2 separate regions of the Homo sapiens genome follow, and region 2 is linked to region 1. Evidence: promoter capture Hi-C in 16 types of primary human blood cells and fetal thymus (Javierre and others, 2016). All regions are on one chromosome and are shown on one strand. The core of a region is centred on a gene start or on the middle of the fragment in contact, and the rest is flanking DNA. Distances in the headings are between cores, read along the strand shown. Region 1 holds the start of POU2F1 (POU class 2 homeobox 1). Region 2 overlaps UCK2 (uridine-cytidine kinase 2).

Region 1 (2,860 bases), core at 190-2,689:
TTCAAATGAGAAGAGGTTCAGCTAAGCAGAGAGTAAAGACGACCCAGCACACAGCGAGAAAACACCGCCACAGAAGAAGGGAGGGGGATCCCCGTCCCTCCCCACCGACTCCCAACAGGAGAGAGGAAATCGAGAATACGATCAACTTGTCAGGCCAGCCCATTCTGGGGCAGGAGGGCAGCCCTTTACATCCAAGTTCTCGGGAGGCCTCTGGGCGCTTCTGGGGCCTCGGAGCGAGAGGCCCCGGAGGGCCACCCGCCCCGTGCGTCCCGGTCAGGCGCAGGGGGTGGGGGGAACGGAGGGGGGGCAGCGGGGAGGGGCAAAGGGAGACGGAGGTCAGACCACGCCAGGCACCTCCAGCCCAACTCGCCCGCGAAGCCCCGGCCGACAACGCAAAGGGGCTGCCGACCGCCGGCCGGGGGCGCGCGGGCCGCCCCAGAGGACATCCCCTCGGAAGGAACTTGCCCCAAGGACTCCTTCCAATCCAGTCCACCCCCCAGGGGGGGCACGCAGACCCCTGCGCGGGTTCCCCACCCCCGCCGCCCCAGGCCACCTCGCAGCGCCCACGACCGCTCACCCCTACCCACCTAGAGAGCAGGCCTGGCTTGGGTCAGGCCACCACATTGGGGACCAGTGGGGCGAGGCCGAAGTGCCTGGGGCCGTGACCCCCGGGCTCAGCCCCGCGCGGGGCGCGGGCAGGGAGCTCTCCCCGCGCGCACCCCCGGTTGCCCTGAGGGCCGCCCCCCAAGGCGGGCAGCGCCCCCCCGCCCGGGCCCGCTCCCGGGGGAAGACGCGTGCGGGTGTCCGGCCGCCGGGGTCCGCTCCGGCCCCGCCGCCTCCCCGGCATTGTGCTCGCCGCCGCCTCCATCCCCCTTCACGCCCCCCACCCCGCGCCCGCCCGGCCCCGGCCGCCCGCCCGCGCCCTACTGCGCCCCGCCGGCCCAGCAGCTATGAATATGTAAAATGTCTTTATTGTCCTCTCCCTCTGCCCCGGCCCCGCCGCCCCGCCGCGGACCCGCTCGGGTTCGGGCACGGCGGCGAGGAGGCGGCAGCGGCGGCCGGCAGAGGAGGAGGGCCGGTGCCGACGGGCAGACGGCGAGCGGCGGCGGGGTGGGCCGGGTGCAGGAGGAGGGCAGTGGATCGCAGCCCCCTTTGCCCCTTGTCTTCCCCCTCCGCCTGGCCGCTCCGAGCCTCTTTCCCCCTCCGCTCAGCGCCCGGCGGGGGCTCAATGCTCCCCGGCCCCCCATCTCCCCGCCGTTAATTATAATAATCCTGAGTACTAATAAATTATGCTAAGTCGCGGGGGGGGGCAGCGGGAGCCGGGGTTGAGTATGAATATGAATATGTAAAATGCTGTAATGATTACCTGCTGCTGCTGCCGCCGCGGCTGAACTCTCATCTTGACTCGCTGCTCCTCCGTCCGCCATTTTGAATATTTTAACCAAAATCGCCCGGTCGATAAACCCTCCCTCGCTCTGGCTCCCCTCCCCCCTCCCGCCCTGCTTGCCTCCTCCCTCCTCTCCGCCCCCTCCCGCTCCTTCCTCTCCCCGGGCGCGCGCCAGGGGGCGCGCGAGGCCGGCTCTGTTCGCCCCGGCCCCCTCAGAAGAGCTCCACCCCCTTCCCGCGCTCTGCGCACGCGCCTTCGGGGCGCTGTGGCCCTTCGGTAGCTAAAGCAGCGCCCTCAATCAGCCAGGCACCCTGTGGCTTCATTTTTCGTCTCGGCTCTGCGCATGCGCGCCTTTCTCCTGCCGCCAGAAGTGTCGCCGGCGCATGCGCTCCCTCTAGCTCAGAACCAGATTATATAGTATCCCGGGCGCCTGTGTCTTCTTACACTTCTCCCTTTTCCTCCCGCCTTGCTTCCCTCCTGGCTTCGCTCCGGTCTCCCCCAGTGGCCTGTGGCATTGTAAAAGCACGGCAAGGAGCGCAGCGGCCAGAAACGTGGGGGCGCGTGGAAGGGCAGTGAGCGGCCCGCGTGCCCTGTGCTCCGCACTTTCTTCAGGGTTTCCGCGCAGTTGAAACATTGGCAACAATGGATAAGCCGCTCCTCGCTAGGTAATTTCCGGCCCTCTGGGCAGGTAGGGGCGGAAACGACCGCCACGGGAGCCGGGCATGAGGCACCTGCTGAGCCACACGCGGGCCTCCCGCTTTAAATTTGAATCCGAGCTAATCCCCGCCCCCGGCTCTGCTAGTGCAGGAGACCCGGCCCCGGCAAACGCGAGGGGGAGTGTCGTGTGATTGTTTTAATTAGCCCTAAATCTCTTCTGCTCTACTTGCTTCTAACGCCAGGCTGGCTTCCTCGGGAGCTAGGCGTCTTATTAAGTCGCTAATTTCCGCCCTACCCTTCCTTTCTGCCTTCACGCCCCTCTAACGCCGCTCCCCCCAATCGAAACAGACCCCATATTCTGAGGCTTCCCCCCGCGCCTTCTTCCCGCCTTGGAACACCTTTTAAAACCTAGCAGTAAGCTGATGACTAATAAAAATGTCGAAATCGTAACTTCATCGTGAATTTTATTTTGCTGTGTTTCTCAGAGTAAATATGGTATTGGGGAAAGGTTTCGCGTTGCACATATCTTTCTTGGTAACTAGACATAATGTTGCTGAGTTTTCTTTATCTTAAATGGCGAAATTCCCTGGACAAAGTCCCAGGTCTAATTATTTTACGAATTTTTAAAGCCCTATTTTTGTTTGTTTGTTTGTTTTTTAAGAATAGAAAGGTGTATTTCATGGTAAGCAAAGTTTAAAAAAAATCAGCTCTAGTTAATCTGTCTTGAGAGATATGACTGAAGTTTAAATTGGGTAGAACTGCTGGTTCTACAATTAAAAACAAAACTGATTTCCAAGTGAGTGCAATTATTTTAAT
Region 2 (3,103 bases), core at 298-2,797, 1.4 Mb after region 1:
AACACTCTCCCCAGTGAAATGTGAAATGCACACTTAACTAAATTCTACATGTGGTTTCAGAAGATAGATAGCCCTTCTGACTCCTATCCATGGATCCCAGGCTAATCTAAAAACTCTTGACCTACAGGTAAACTGTCTGCTACCACCAGAGAGAAACAGAAGGAAAGATAAGACTTGACCAACTTCCAGATGTTTTGTTTTGTTTTGTTTTGTTTAAAAAAAAGGGCAGTCTCTTTTTTCTTATCAGCACAGTTATAGAAACTAGGAAAAGACCACAGTCAAAATCCCATACCCATAGGAATTCAATACCTGTAGGAATCCAGGGACATTAAATAAATTTTAAAATGTTGTGGTTTTTTAGAGACAAAGTCTCACTCTACTGCCAATGTTGGAGCACAGTGGCACAATCATAGCTCACTGTAACCTCAAACTACTGGGCTCAAGTGATCCTCCCACCTCAGTCTCTAGAGTAGCTAGCTAGGCCACAGGTGCCACACTCAGCTAATTTTTTTTACTTTCTTTTTTAATTTTCTGTAGAGACAAGATCTCACTGTGTTGCTCAGGCTGGTCTGGAACTCCTGGGCTCAAGTGATCATCCCACCTCGGCCTCCCAAAGCACTGGAATTACAAGCATGAGCCACTGCACCTGGTCAACTTTCTTTGCAGGGCATGACAGCCAGTGAGAACGCACAGAATGCTGGGCACAGTGGCTCATACCTGTAACCCCAACACTTTCGGAGGCCGAGGCAGGAGGATCACTGGAGTACAGAGTTAGATATCAGCCTGGGCAAAAAAGTGAGACTCCATCTCTAAAAAGAATTTTAAAATTAGCTGGGCATGGTGGCACACTCCTATAGTACCAGCTACTCAGGAGGCTGAGGCAGGAGGATTGTTTGGGTCCAGCAAGTTGAGGCTGCAGTGAGCAGTGATCATGCCACTGCACTCCAGTCTGGGCAACAGAGCGAGACTGTGTCTCAATCAATCAATCAATGAACAAACAAACAGAAAACAGCAGCTGCTGTCTGCAGGAGCACCCCCTTCCCCAAAATACTGCTGATGAGACTTAAATATTTCCCAAATCTCAAGGAGACTGATATTTAGCTGATGTAAAACAACTCAGATCCAGTTAATTGTTACACAGCTAAAATAATGTCACACCTCAAGGGACATGCTCTCCAAAGAGTTGCGAAGAAAAAAAGTCTGTTTCCCAAGAGAGGTAACATTCATTTTATAAGTACTACATCTGTGCATAAATATATATTTGTAATTGAAAAGGAAAAGCTTTATGAGGAAAACAAATTACAGCAACTAACCTCTGAGGAAGAGTGCGCCAAGAAGATGTAGGAAAAAAACCAAAGTGCCTTTCCTACCCTCTACCGTGCACAGAATATTTCACCTCTGGTCACCAAAACGTATGGCGATTTCTCCCCACCAGCAACCAATCAATTCATCAGCAGACACCAGCTGGATGTCCTGTAATTCAATTCTGACACGATCTACCTGGAGAGAGCGCCAGATCCCACAGGCTGAGGGCTCAGTCCCCAAGACTGCCCCATACTTCAGATGCCAATGGCAGGTCCCAGGTTGTGACCTGTGCTTCTGACAGAGGTTTTTAAATCAGGGTTCTCATGACCCCTCCTCAGGTTCGATTAATTTGCTAGCTTGGCTCACTGAGCTCAAAGAAACACTTACTTATGTTTACCCATTTATTATAAAGGGAACAATTTATTATAAAGATTATAAAGGAAACACAGGAACAGCCAGATTAAAAAGACGCAAAGGGTGAGGCATGTGGGAAGGGTGCAAAGCTTCCACACCCTCTCGAGGCAGTCACCCTCCAGGAACCCCCACCTGTTCTGCTATCTGGATGCTCATTCAAACACTGTCCTTTTGGGTTTTTATGAAAACTTCGTTACATACGCATCATTGATCACAATGCTGTCATTAGTGATCAGCTCGACCTTCAGCCCCCCTCTCCCTCTCACCTCCCCAGAGGTCAGGGGCATGGGGCTGAAAGTTCTAACACCGTAATCACGCGGTTCGTTCCCTTAGCAACCAGCCACCATCCTGGCTATCCAGGAGCCCACCACAGTTATCTTGTTAGAACAAAAGATGCTCCTATCACCTGGGAAATTCTAAGGGATTTAGGAGCTCTGTTATCACCCAGGAAATTACAAAGGTTTGAGGGTGCTCTGTGTCAGGAACATATTAGAACAAGAGGTTCTCCTAGTGCCCCTATCCACAGGGTTTTAGGAGCTCTGTGCCAGGAATGAGGGGGCAGAGACCAAACACATATTTCTTATTATATCACAGTACCACAGGTGCTGAAGGATTTTATTTTTACTTCTTACTTGGAATACCTCGTGTTCATCCACACTGAATGTCAACTACGAGGAGGGAGCCGTTCTAGGTGCAGGCACTGCAGGAGAAGGCATACGTGCCCTTTCAGGCTTGCACTGAGACTCAATAGAGCAGAGTAGGTTTTTTGGACTCTGAAGCCAAGAGTTTAAATGCCAGCCCCACCTGGCACTCTATACACAGTGGGTACTTAACTCCTTGGTGCTACAGTCTTCCCATGTTGAAATTGGGGATAATTATAGTACCTTACCTGAAAGGGCTGTGAGAGGAAATAAAGGCATTAATACAAATAAAACACTTAGAATAGCACTCAGTATATAGTTAGTGCTCGGGAAGTATTAGCTATTACCAAAAGAAATACATTGAAAAGAGATAAACAATAAACACGTGCAAAATTATTTCAAATGGTATTAGTGATATAAGAAAAAAATAAGGCAGTGGAATCAAGAGAGTTGCAGTAGGCACTCCATTAGTATTAAATCAACATTTTACAAGAACATGTGTTACTTCTGATTAAGAATAAAAAGTGGCAAAGTATGATAAAGGTTGTTCTCCTGTTTTTTAGAGACAGGGTCTCTCCATCTGTCACCCTCAAACTCCTGGCCTCCACAGATCCTCCTACCTCAGCCTCTTGAGTAGCTCCTACTACAGGTGCATGCCACTGCACCTGGCTCATTACTTATTTTTTGTAGAGATGGGGGGTTCTACTATGTTGACAGGCTGGTATCAAACTCCTGGCCTCAAG

The links. Contacts are between HindIII fragments. The CHiCAGO score rates a contact against its expected background, and 5 or more counts as called.
Region 2: a contact is called between a fragment that was not itself captured here and the fragment with the promoter of POU2F1 in region 1, in 1 of 17 cell types (erythroblasts). The highest score is 5.1, in erythroblasts.

What each region holds. Positions count from the first base shown.
Region 1 is chr1:167,219,465-167,222,324 of GRCh38, reverse strand. It overlaps POU2F1 (POU class 2 homeobox 1), which reads right to left and starts at 1,439. Exons shown (of 16, transcript NM_002697.4): 1 at 1,367-1,439. The coding sequence starts at 1,427. POU2F1-DT (POU2F1 divergent transcript) reads left to right here and starts at 1,789. Exons shown (of 1, transcript NR_185889.1): 1 at 1,789-2,494. RefSeq lists enhancers at 37-216, 1,747-1,856 and silencers at 277-456, 467-746, 967-1,116, 1,467-1,566. The HindIII fragment of the contact is 11,517 bases long and covers 1-2,860 here.
Region 2 is chr1:165,843,559-165,846,661 of GRCh38, reverse strand. All of the region lies in intron 1 of UCK2 (uridine-cytidine kinase 2), which reads right to left. Among named protein-coding and RNA genes, the nearest start is that of UCK2, 17 kb to the right of the region's middle. The HindIII fragment of the contact is 527 bases long and covers 1,284-1,810 here.